Regions from separate parts of the Homo sapiens genome. Here regions 1 and 3 are each linked to region 2. The links are contacts of gene promoters, found by promoter capture Hi-C in human tissues and cell types (Jung and others, 2019). All regions are on one chromosome and are shown on one strand. Each heading gives the region's core, a stretch centred on a gene start or on the middle of the fragment in contact. The rest is flanking DNA. Distances are from core to core; before and after follow the strand shown. Region 1 has its middle 11 kb from the start of OXT. Region 2 holds the start of C20orf141 (chromosome 20 open reading frame 141). Region 3 overlaps LOC105372507 (a long non-coding RNA gene).

Region 1 (4,127 bases), core at 1,035-3,534, 240 kb before region 2:
AGAGATAGGGGTCTAGTTTTATTCTTCTACCTATGGATATCCTGTTTTCCCAGCATCATTTATTAAAGAGGATGTTCTTTCCCCAGTGTTTGTTCATGATGCCTTTGTCAAAAATCAGTTGACTGTAAACACATGGATTTATTTCTGGATTCTCCAGTCTGTTCTATTGGTCTGTGTCTATTTTTATACCAATAGCCTGCTGTTTTGATTACTACACCTTTGTAGTAAATTTTGAAGTCAGGTGGTGTGGTACCTCTAAGCTTTGTTCTTTTTGCTCATTATTGCTTTGGCTATTAAGTATCTTTTGTGGTTCCATACAAATTTTCAGATTGTTTTTTCTATTTCTGTGAAGAATGTCATTGGTATTTTGATAGGGATTGCACTGAATCTGTGGATTGCTTTGAGTAGTACAGTCATTTAACAATACTCTTCCAATCCATGAGCATGGGATGCCTTTCCATTTGTTTGTATCCTTTTCAATTTTTTTTCTTTTTTTTTTTTTTTTTGAGATGGAGTCTTGCTCTGTCGCCCAGGCTAGAGTGCAGTGGCACGATCTCGGCTCACTGCAACCTCCGCCTCCCAGGTTCAAGGAATTCTCCTGCCTCAGCCTCCGGAGTAGCTGGGACTACAGGCGCCTGCCACCACGCCCGGCTAATTTTTTATTTATTTTAGTAGAGATGGGGTTTCACCATCTTGGCCAGGCTGGTCTCGAACTTCTGACCTTGTGATCCACCCGCCTCAGCCTCCCAAAGTGCTGGGATTACAGGTGTGAGCCACGGCGCCCGGACTTCAATTTTTTTTTATCAGTGTCTTATAGTTTTCATTGTAAAGGCCTTTCACTTAATTATTAGTAATTAAGTTTTGGGGGGGTCAAACGTTATATGTGAATTTTCTAGTGTGCAGGGTTTTGGCATCCATAGCCTCCACATTCTTCAAGGATCAACTGTATTTTGTTGAGGATTTTTGCATCTATGTTTATCAGGTATATTGGCCTGTAGTTTTCTTTTGTTGTTGTGTGTGTCCTAGTCTGGTTTTGGTGTCTGGGTAACGCTGGCCTCATAGAATGAGTTAGAAAAAAATTCTCTTCAATTTTTAGGAATAGTTTGAGAAGAATGGGTGTTAGTTCTTTATAAATTGGTAGAATTCCACAGTAAAGCCATCTGGTCCTGAGCTTTTCTCTGTTGAGAGACTTTTAATTATTGATTCAATGTGGTTACTCATCATTGATCTCTTCAGGTTTTCTATTTTTTTCCTGGTTCAATCTTGGTAGGTTGTTTGTGTCCAGGAATTCATAGATATCCTCTAGGGTTTCCAATTTGTTAGTGTATAGTTGTTCATAATAGTTTCTAATGATCCCTTGTATTTCTGTGATATCAGTTGTATGTCTCCTTTCTCATTTCTAATTTTATTTGGGTCTTCTCTCTTTTTTTCTAGGTTAGTCCTGGTAGTGGCTTATTGATTTTTTTTTTTTTTTTCTCACACACCAAGCACAGGTTTGTGGATTTTGTTTATATTTTTTAAAAAACAAGTTTTTATTTCATTGACCCTTTGTTTCCCTTTTTTAGTCTCTATTCTGTTTAGTTCTGCTCTGATCTTTATGTTTCTTTCCTTTGGGTTTGGTTTATTCTTGCTTTTCTAGCTCCTTGAGGAGCATCATGAGGTTGTTTACTTGAAGTCTTCCTACTTTTTTTGATGTAGGCATTTGTTGTTATATAGTAGGCTATTAATGACTGTTCCAATAATTTTGGCTTCCAAATGATTGGAAACTGAAAGCATGCAAGGCCGGTGTGGTGGCTCACACCTGTAATCCCAGCACTTTGGGAGGCAGAGGCAGGCAGATCACCTGAGGTCAGGAGTTCAAGTACAGCCTGGCCAACATGGTGAAACCCCGTCTCTACTAAAAATACAAAAATTAGCTGGGTGTGGTGGCGGGTGCCTGTAATCCCAGGAGGCAGAGGTTGCAGTAAGCCAAGATCGCACCATTGCACTCCAGCTTGGGCAACAAGAACGAAACTCCGTCTCAAAAAATAAATAAATAAATAAATAAAAGCATGCAGGATATCAGTCACTTATAACAGTCATTTTTTCCCCAATTTTATGGAATTGCATGGAATTTTTTTTTCATCTATTCATTTTCAGTCTATGTGTGTCTTTACGGGTGAAGTGAATTTCTGATAGGCAGCATACAATTGGGTCTTTTTTTTTTTTGGACAGGGTGGTGGTAACAGCAATCTGTTTGGGCCAGTCCCCAGGCCCCTGGGTGGCGTGCTGGTACTGACTGGCAGCAGCAGGCTGGGTGGGCCAGTGCCTGGGCCTCTGGGAGATGCACACAGGAATCAGTGGTAGGCAAGGTGGACCTGTCCTTGGGCTCCTGGACAGTGTGCATGTGTGGCATGCACACCAGTGGCAGTGAAGTGGGTGGATCAATCCCTAGGTCTCTGGACAGTACACATGGACGGCAGCAGTAGGTGGGGTGAGCCCATCCTCAGGTCCCTGGAAGGCGTGCATGTGTGCTGACAGTGCAGGTCAACCCCCAGACCCCTGGATGACATGCATGGGTACTAGCATTGACATCAGTAGGTAGGGTGGGACCCTTAGGCCCCTGGATGGTGCACACGGGTGGTGATGGTGGTGGGCTGGGCAGATTGAATCTCAGGCCCCTGGATGATGTGCACAGGTGCTGGCAGCAATGGTGGTGGTGAAGGGCAGGGCAGGCCTGTTTTCAGCCCCCCAGATGGTGTGCATGGGCACTGGCAGTGGCAGATAGGATGGATTGATCCCCAGGCCCTGGAAGGCATGCTCGGGCACCAGTGGCAATGGTGGTGGGCAGGGCGAGCCTGTCCTCAGATGTCCTCTGCACCTGCAACCGATGTGTGGGCTATTTCCACACAGCCAGTGGAGTGGGAGAGAATGGTAGCCCCACCAAAGAAAAATAATTCATGACCAGTATTTTTTCAGTTTTTTTCCCCCAGCTTTATTGAGGTATAATTGACAAATAAAAATAGAGTATACTCAGCCGGGCACGGTGGCCCACGCCTGTAATCCCAGCACTTTGAGAGGCCAAGGTGGGCGGATCACTTGAGGCCAGGAGTTCAAGACTAGCCTGGCCAACATGTTGAAACCCTCCACTAAAAATACAAAAATTAGCTGGGCATGGTGGTGGGCGTCTGTAATCCCAGCTACTTGGGAGGCTGAGGCAGGAGAATTGCTTGAACCTAGGAGATGGAGGTTGCAGTGAGCCGAGATCATGTCACTGCACTCCAGTCTGGGTGACAAGAGCAAAACTCTGTCTCAAACAAACAAACAAACAAAAAAAGTATATATTTTCTCACACTTGTAATCCCAGCACTTTGGGAGGCCGAGGTGGGAGGATCACCTGAGGTCAGGAGTTCGAGACTAGCCTGGCCAACATGGTGAAACCCCTCTCTACTAAAAATACAAAAATTAGCCAGGTGTGGTGGTGCACACCTGTAGTTCCATCTACTCAGGAGGCTGAGGCAGGAGAATTGCTTGAGCCTGGGAGGCGGAGGTTGCAGTGAGCCGAGATCACTCCACTGCACTCCAGCCTGGGTGACAGAATGATACTCCGTCTCAACATAAAAAAGGAAAACAAACAAACAACAACAACAAAAAACAAAAAACAAACCCAAGGGACTTCTGATGTGAGTATCCACTGAAGCTTACTACAGGTCCACATAGCATTCTGGTTAACTGTGGACATCTTGAGTACCAGTTCTACTGGATCTACTGGATCATAAGGCCCAAAGTACAGAGTGGCCTGCCTTGCAACTGGATCTCTTAAGCTGTCTTCTCTTGCCCTAAATGCCCCTCAAAGCTGGCAGCACTTCTAGTCCTGACGAGCAGAACATTCAAATGTGGCCAGTGTTGACTCCAAAATTCAGAGGTTCACCATGCAACATGTCTCCTTTTTAGAGATAAAGAATGCAAGGTACAGTAACTTGTCCATCATTTTTTTGGTGAAAAGACAATCTGCCAGGCTCAGTGGCTCATGCCTATAATCCCAGCACTTTGGGAGGCCAAGGTGGGCAGATCACTTGAGCCCAGGAGTTTGAGACCTGCCTGGGCAACATGGTGAAACCCTGTCTCTACAAAAAAATATAAAATTA
Region 2 (3,936 bases), core at 916-3,415:
AGTCTACCTGTTAGGGACTAGGGGTCTGGGCCCTGCCAAGGCAGGGAGCCCTGATCCCATTGCCCTCCCTCTCCCCGTGGGGTCTCAGGCCCTAGGCCAGGGCTCAACAGACACAGGCAGTGGGATGGGGTTGCCCTTCTATTGATCCAAATCCTGAGTGTCGCCTGGGTGAGTCATGGAGGTGAGGAGGCCCACAAGGCTCAGCAGTGTGGAGAAGAGCAGCAGGAAGGAGGCCGTGAAGAGGAGGGCAGGCAGAGCACTGAGCACCAGCAGCAGGAGAGCCGGTAGCAGGTGGCGCCACACCGCGGCCACGACAGGCCACAAGGAGCTCAGCAGGTGGGAGCCAGTGGTGAAGAGTGCATGGCACAACATCAGTGCCAGCAGCAGGTAGAGTATCCCCTCCAGACCCCACAGCAGGCGCTGCAGCGGTTGCCGCCAGTTCGAGGTGCTCCACCACTGGATCCAGCTCGGGGGCATGTGGCTCACCCACCAGCGCACCCAGCCATGCCTCGTGACCCAGGCTGACCAGGGCACTGCCTGCTGTGGCCCCTCGCCAGCCCCGATGGTATCTGTCTCCACTCGCGGCTGCTGCATCATGTCTGGTGCACCTGGGGAGAGGGCCAGGGTCTTGAAGATGCCTGGGACCTTGGGGGGGGGGGGCAGAGAGGGGGTGCAGGGGTCAGGAGGGCACCAGTGTGCGTGGGGTGGGGCTACAGAATTAGGGACTGGGACTTACCTCTGGGCAGTTACCTAAGTCATGTTGCTTCCTGCAGCGCCCAGGACGGCCTGGCAGGCAGATCCAAGTCCCCACTCTCATCTACCCCCACCCTCCCCAGAGGAGCCCCTTTGTGACCCGGGCTGGGGTGGGGTCCAGCCAAGAGAGGAGTCACTGTAGGGTGTGAGGCCCACCCAAGTCCCTCTGCACGGACCCTCCAGGCTGGCAGGGGAGCCTCGGAGCCCCGCAGATGTAGTTTCTCATGCTTTCTCATGGGAAGCCCTCCCTGGATCCCTGTCCCTTTCCTGCTTTCCCTGCTGGCTGATATCCACCCCTTTCCAAACTGCTCTCTCGCAAGTCTTTCTGTCTGGACCTTCATTCTCTAGAGCCACAGAGGAGGCCAGAGTGGCTGCCCCCAATCCACAGGCTCTGAGGTGGCTGCCACATTCTTCCTTGGGCTCCCTGGCTAGTATCCTACCTTCTCTTGCTGCCCAAAGACTCAGATCCAGGTATCTGATACCTATATTATAGGACTGTGAGGTTCAGGCTGGGAAGAAAGGGGTATCATCCCACCTGCCCAGCCAGGAAGGAGAAAAGGGGGCCTGATGAAGAAGGGTGGTCATTGTATATTTGAAGGACACTGAGTTGTGGGGAGGGGCTCTCAGGCCCAAGGATGGAGGCAGAAAGCCAGGCCAAGCAGGGTCAAGGGCATGCCACAGGCTCTCAGGAGCGGGCCCAGCCCCATGAGCAGCAGCAGCAGTGCGTCCTGGAGGCTAAGTTGTCCTGAGACTGTACCCATTTGCAGGAGTAGAGCCTCCTGCTGTCCAGGACCTTCACCGGCCCCCTGACTCTGGCCCCTGGTGAGAAGTTTGCGCTGTGGCAGAGTGTGACCTGCGGGCCTGTGGAGAGAGAGGGTGGTGACTGGGCTTAGGGAAGTTGTCCACTGGCCCGCCCGCCTACAATGCCCACCTGCCAGGCTGCTGCCCACTTACCTATGGAGCAGGTCAAAGGTGAGGAAGCTGACCAGAAGCAGCAGCAGGGCTGGGCCAGTGGTGGAAAAGACTGCCTGGATTGTCAGTCCTAGTGCCCCCAGCCATAGGACACTGTCCAGGAGCTGGGCCCAGCTAGGGCCCCAGGTGGATACAGGTGGACGCACTGGACTACCTGACCCCTCCCCAGCACCCAGGCCCCTTGGAGGAACTGGGATCGGATCCTCACGTGCTTCGGGTCTGGGTAAGCAGAGCCGGGTCATGGAGAGAGGTGGAGGTGACGGGAAGACCTAGTGCTGAAAAGGATTATAAGGGTGAGAGTAGGGGAAGGGGTAGGGCCCGGGCAGACAGAAGGGTGAGCTCAGAGTGGGGAATTAGGCTCCTGCAGAGTCTCCCCCTCCCCCATACCCACCCAGCAAACCCTCCTCACCTCCTCCCACTTTGGTCAGCATTCTGGGAGTGGGCACCCGGGGCATTGTGACCTGTTACCACGTGGGGCCGTGGGGTAGGGAGGGGGCTGCTGCTGCTGCTGCTCTGACCTCATAAGCAGCTGGTGGCCTAGGTGGGGCTTAGCTGGGAAGTCAGGGATTTCTGAGAACTAAGACTCATCCTCTTGCCTTTGCTGATTCTCTGCCCTAGGGCCCTCCCTTGGGGATCTGAGTTGTCAGGAAGGCATTCTAACCCCATTACTACTTGGGCATCTGTCCAAGGGAGCGAGGTCTGCTTTCTTCTTCCTGTGAGTTTGCAGAGCTGCAGGTCCAGGGCGAAGTCATTCAATATCTCTGTCCCCAGCTGTCTTCCCTGTGGGTCCTTCTAGGGGATTTTTCAGGCCTGAAGTTCCAGATTGCAGAGATGGGCTCTGCCAGGGGACTGCCTGAGGCTTCTGGGGCTGGGCTTCCGCATAACCTGCTAAATGGGGGTGAGAGAGGAGGGGGCTGTTCAGGTATTCTAAGCACTACAGTTTATAGGGGGTGTTATGCATACTGGGGTTCCAGTAATGAGGTAGAGGACATGAACTTAAGAGGACTATGACCTAGTAACCCCCTTATTAGAGGTTAAGGTTACAGTCTGAGAATGGAGTTAAGGAAAATGAACATATAATGAAGGGCTTAGTCACTTGGATTATCAGTATATCAGATTACACTGATCATCTGTAAATGGGTGGTGGCCATAGGGGTCCAGCACATCTCAGTTTAGTGACTTGAGAGGCAAGAGCGGAAATGTGTCATAATTAAGAGAACTTAATCTTTGCCCACATATCATACTTTGAAGGAAAACTGGTAGGGGTGGCAAAATGGGAGACAGTGGCCATACAGCCCCTAGGAGAGGAGGAGACAGAACAAGAATCAGGCTGCATATCCACCTCCAGCAGGCCTTGCCCAGAGACGAGGGTCACCAGCCCTAATGACCATGCACTGATCGCCCTTGGTCTGGCTGTTCTTGCTTATCCAGCAGCTGGGTTTTACGAGTAGATTTGTCCGTAATGGGATAGGGTATAACAGAAGATCCCAGAATTTTTTTTTTTTTGGCATTAAGTTCCAATTGTGCTTGTAAAGGAACATTAAGGTTTAAGATTGGCAATTCCCTGAGCCTGATCAATCCTGGATGCATCCACACAATTGCATTCCTGGACATACAGACCTGGGGAGCATGTCCTGATGAGTCCACCAAGATGAGGCTACTCCATATTGCAGGGCATGGGGGGATCGGAGAGTCTAAAGCTCCTTAAAGATTTACTATGCACCAGGTGCTCTGTATGCATGTATAGGAGAGTTCTGTCTGTGATTTTCTCAGAGTTTATTTTGTATTCAACAATCATTTATTTAAGTGCTTCCTATGTGCCAGGCACTGCACCAGATGGTGGGTGTATTAGGCCATTCTTGCGTTGCTATGAAGAAATACCTGAGACTGGGTAATTTATAAGAAAAGAGGCTTAATTGGCTTGCAGTTTTGCAGGCTGTACAGGAAGTAGGGTACCAGCATCTGCTTTTGGGGAGACCTCAGGAAACTTCCAATCATGGCAGAAGGCAAAGGGTGAAGAGCAAGGGAGAGAGTGGTGGTTAGGGGAGTTGCCACACACTTAAACAACCAGATCTTGAGAGAACTCACTCACTATTTCAAGGACAGCACCAAGCCATGAAATATCCACCCCCATGACCCAAACACCTCCCATCAGGCCCTACCTCCAACATTGGGATTTGAGATTTCAACTTGAGATTTGGACAAATATTC
Region 3 (3,658 bases), core at 437-2,936, 140 kb after region 2:
CAATAATTGACCTTACACATTCTTGGCCAAAGTGGAATATTCCCATGAGTATACCACTCCATCTGCCACTCCAATCAATCTGATCACCCTAGACTGGGACCAAATTTGCTCAATTTGTCTCATACAGAATTTACTACCAATAGAACCTCAAGCAAGATGAGGCCAACCAACAGTATTGGCTTCAACAATGCCACCCGGCGTCTCAGACTCAGTCACCTGTGAATAAGTCTCAAGGGGATCAGTAGGCCTTAGTAGGCCAGGATACAGTCTAAGGCCAGGTCATTATCCATTACAACCTGCATAAGTGAGTTCTAGACTAATCTACTGGTCCTCAATGTCATCGCCAGTAATTATATGAAGTGATAGATGGGCCAAAAGCAACCCTCATCCCTAATGGAGAGACATCACATGGCCCACATACAAACATACACCCAACAGGTTACGTGTTACTTGAATTCAGAATTTGTTGTTGATTCTGATTTGGATTATCATTACACTGGTTTGGTTTAGCCACATGGATGGTGTCACCTAACGCTTGCATCCTCAGACACCATACATGAACCAAAGCCACGTGGGTGACAGGAAAAGTGCCTGTGTTTGTACCAATCAGACAAACAAGGTTGTGCTGGATGGTGTGTTTGTGCATGTATGGGGTAAGGGGAGGTTCCATATTTGGGAGCTGCCATTGATGGCTGGCAAAGGCCACAACTGAATAGCCAGGACTGGCCACCTCCTTATGAATTCCCCTGTTTTCATAGCATGCAGGCAGCATGATAAATCCAGAAAGGGTAAGACTGTCAGCTGCAGCTGCTGCTCAACTCAGATGAACGAGATGATGGTTTTTCTAGGTTTCAATGCTGGATCTAGGGGACAAAGAGCACATTGATCATTCTCCACTGTTTGCACCTGCTGGCATCTAAGGTGTCTTCTCGCAGGCTTCCTGGCTATGAAAGCAGCATATCTCATTCCAGTAGCCATAACTTCATCATTTCTCCGATCTTTCCCTACTCATACCCAGACCTTTTGTCTGCTAGAGCGAGGCGTGAGTGAGACAAGGACATTTTTACAAAATTTACAGACATCCATTGTATCTCGCACCTTGGCCTATATGAGCCAGTGTGAGAGAACTTGGCAAGGAATGTACTCAACCAGTGTACTCAATTTGGCAAGCAATTGTATTCAATGAGTACACTGATCTGGGATCAGGTTAATCTGTCAAGAGAATCCAAGTGGCTAAACCAGAATTAGAGATAAGTTTGAATCCCCTAAGTCCCCTTTTGCCGGGCTGACACCTGGAGGGTGCACCAAGCAGGCTGGTGTGGGGTTGCTGTTGGGTTAGGGGTGGGAGAGGAAAGAAAAAAGAAGCACCATGCTCCCAACTTTTCAGAATAGATCTATATAACCCTCCACCTGTTTTCATCCTGATCAGTACCCAGGAAGTGGCTGAAAGGAGATGATCTTTGGAGATAGCTGCATTCAGTGATCATACTGCCTCGCTGAAGTATGTGGCCCAGAAGGAGTTGATGGAGGTAGTCAGAAGCTTTGGAGGAGGCCATTCCAGTGCTCAATAATACCAGATACTAGCAGATGGTAGGGAGCCTAGCATGTCCATCGAATACTTTGACTACTGGCCCATTGTTGGGCGGCTTTTGCAATAAAAGGTGCATCACTGTCAGACTGTAGGTGGTCTGAGAATCCAAAAACTTGACATGACTTAGTTTCAGGGGCCAAAATAGTGTGACTGGGGCCCCAGACTCTATTCAGACTAGAACAGACAAGAACAGCAACATTGTAACCTGAAAACGTTCTGACAGAAGTGAGGCACCAATGACACAGCCTGGGGAGGGGGTCAGCTATCTGATATCTGGACAATCATCCAGGAGCAACTGGGGGCAATACTCTGTGTGCAATGCGGCCTCCTTCCCTGCAAGACAAATGGCTCAAATTTTGGGAGGCACCACAGCTCTGGTATGTAGTGGTGTCTTCTGCATCAGAAACACATAGTTGTTTTGTTGTTGTTGTTATTGTTTTTTGAGACAGAGTCTCACTGTGCAGTGATGCGATCTCGGCTCACTGCAACTTCTGCCCCCCAGGTTCAAGCGAATCTCCTGCCTCAGCCTCCCAAGTAGGTGGGATTACAGGCGCCTGCCACCACACCTGGCTACTTTTTGTAGTTTTAGTAGAGATGGGGTTTCACCATGTTGGCCGGGCTGGTCTCAAACTCCTGACGTCAAGTGATCCGCCTGCCTTGGCCTCCCAAAGTACTAGGATTACAGGTGTGAGTCACTGCGCCTGGCCTGAAACAGTTTTTGATTTTGTGCTCAGTCCACGATGGTGAATGTGTTGTTATGTCTTGTTCGATGACGGATCTAGGTGGTGATGGTGGTGGTATGGGCAGTGAAGTCTGGATCAGCAGCTTGACTACAGTTTGTCTCATTAGAGAAGGGCCCTTACCATGGGCATCTCTGTGAGTAACTTGGGCATCTGATTGGCAGCTGAAATTATTTCCACAATATGCAGCTGCAATAGGGAATGTCTTTAATCTTCCAGTCTTGTGGGCAAGATAGCTAGGCCATTGGCAACCACACAAAAGGCAGTAAAAATGTAGAAGGGTTCATCACGGGGAGTATTGGCCAGAACTATCAGCACTCCCTTGAGCTCTGTCCATTGAGTGGAGCAGTCATGCTTGCTTTTTTTAAAAAATTATTATTTATTATTATTTTTTTAAATTTGAGATGGAGTCTCGCTCTGTTGCCTAGACTGGAGTGCAATGGCGCGATCTCGGCTCACTGCAACCTCCGCCTCCTGAGTTCAAGCAATTCTCTTCCCCTAGCCTCCCAAGTAGCTGGGATTACAGATGCACGCCACCACGCCCGGCTAATTTTTGTATTTTTAGTAGAGACGGGGTTTCACCACGTTGACCAGGCTGATCTGGAACTCCTGACCTCAAGTGATCCACCCGCCTCGGCCTCCCAAAGTGCTGGGATTACAGGCGTGAGCCACCACGCCCAGCCCATGCCTGTTTTTGGTTCTGCATAGCTGGTGCTGAGGTTGAACGTGGACACTATAAGGTGTCAGCCTAGCCAAACCATCATTGTACCAGGCCAGGTGCCTAGGGAACCCTCTGTGACTTGAGGGCCCCATTGAGCCAGCAGCTTTGCTTCAAGTGGTGAAGTTAGGAAAAGATTTCCCCTGAAGGGATTTTTGCTGCCACTTTTTCATGTAAAACCCAGCTAATATTAGGACCAGGCCAGCTGTGTTACTGAATACAGTATTTCCATTGGATTAATAATGCCTTTTGTGCCCCTCCCTTAGTAGCCACCAAATCCAAGTTGACCCATCCCAAAATGGGAGTGTCAGTTTGGAGAGTCACAGGAACTTTTTGGGTCAGTAACAAGTTAGTGGGCACCTTTTTAAAAAGGGGATGGGGGCCTGGCATGGTGTTTCATGCCTGTAATCCCAGCACTTTGAGAGGCCGAGGAGGGCAGGTCGCTTGAGGTCAGGAGTTCAAGATCAGCCTGGCCAACATGGTGAAACTCTGTCTCTACTTAAAAACAACCACCAAACAAAAAAGCCAGGTGTGGTTGCGCATGCCTGTAGTCCCAGTTACTCGGGAAGCTGAGGCAGGAGAATAGCTTGAACCTGGGAGGTGGAGGTT

The links. Contacts are between HindIII fragments. The study calls those that stand out against the background at their distance.
Region 1: a contact is called between a fragment that was not itself captured here and the fragment with the promoter of C20orf141 in region 2, in 1 of the 25 tissues and cell types used here (bladder).
Region 3: a fragment that was not itself captured here is called in contact with the fragment with the promoter of C20orf141 in region 2 in 2 of the 25 tissues and cell types used here (adrenal gland and spleen).

What each region holds. Positions count from the first base shown.
Region 1 is chr20:3,058,064-3,062,190 of GRCh38, reverse strand. No RefSeq gene overlaps it. Among named protein-coding and RNA genes, the nearest start is that of OXT, 11 kb to the left of the region's middle. RefSeq lists enhancers at 2,075-2,574, 2,575-3,076. The HindIII fragment of the contact is 4,505 bases long and covers 32-4,127 here.
Region 2 is chr20:2,813,216-2,817,151 of GRCh38, reverse strand. C20orf141 (chromosome 20 open reading frame 141) reads right to left here and starts at 2,165. Exons shown (of 3, transcript NM_001256538.2): 1 at 2,135-2,165; 2 at 1,708-2,000; 3 at 1,322-1,614. The coding sequence starts at 1,967. The coding sequence ends at 1,377. TMEM239 (transmembrane protein 239) reads right to left here and starts at 788. Exons shown (of 2, transcript NM_001167670.3): 1 at 737-788; 2 at 1-608. The coding sequence starts at 597. The coding sequence ends at 139. RefSeq lists a silencer at 232-291. The HindIII fragment of the contact is 18,533 bases long and covers 1-3,936 here.
Region 3 is chr20:2,675,286-2,678,943 of GRCh38, reverse strand. All of the region lies in intron 2 of LOC105372507 (a long non-coding RNA gene), which reads left to right. Among named protein-coding and RNA genes, the nearest start is that of IDH3B-DT, 13 kb to the right of the region's middle. The HindIII fragment of the contact is 8,763 bases long and covers 1-3,658 here.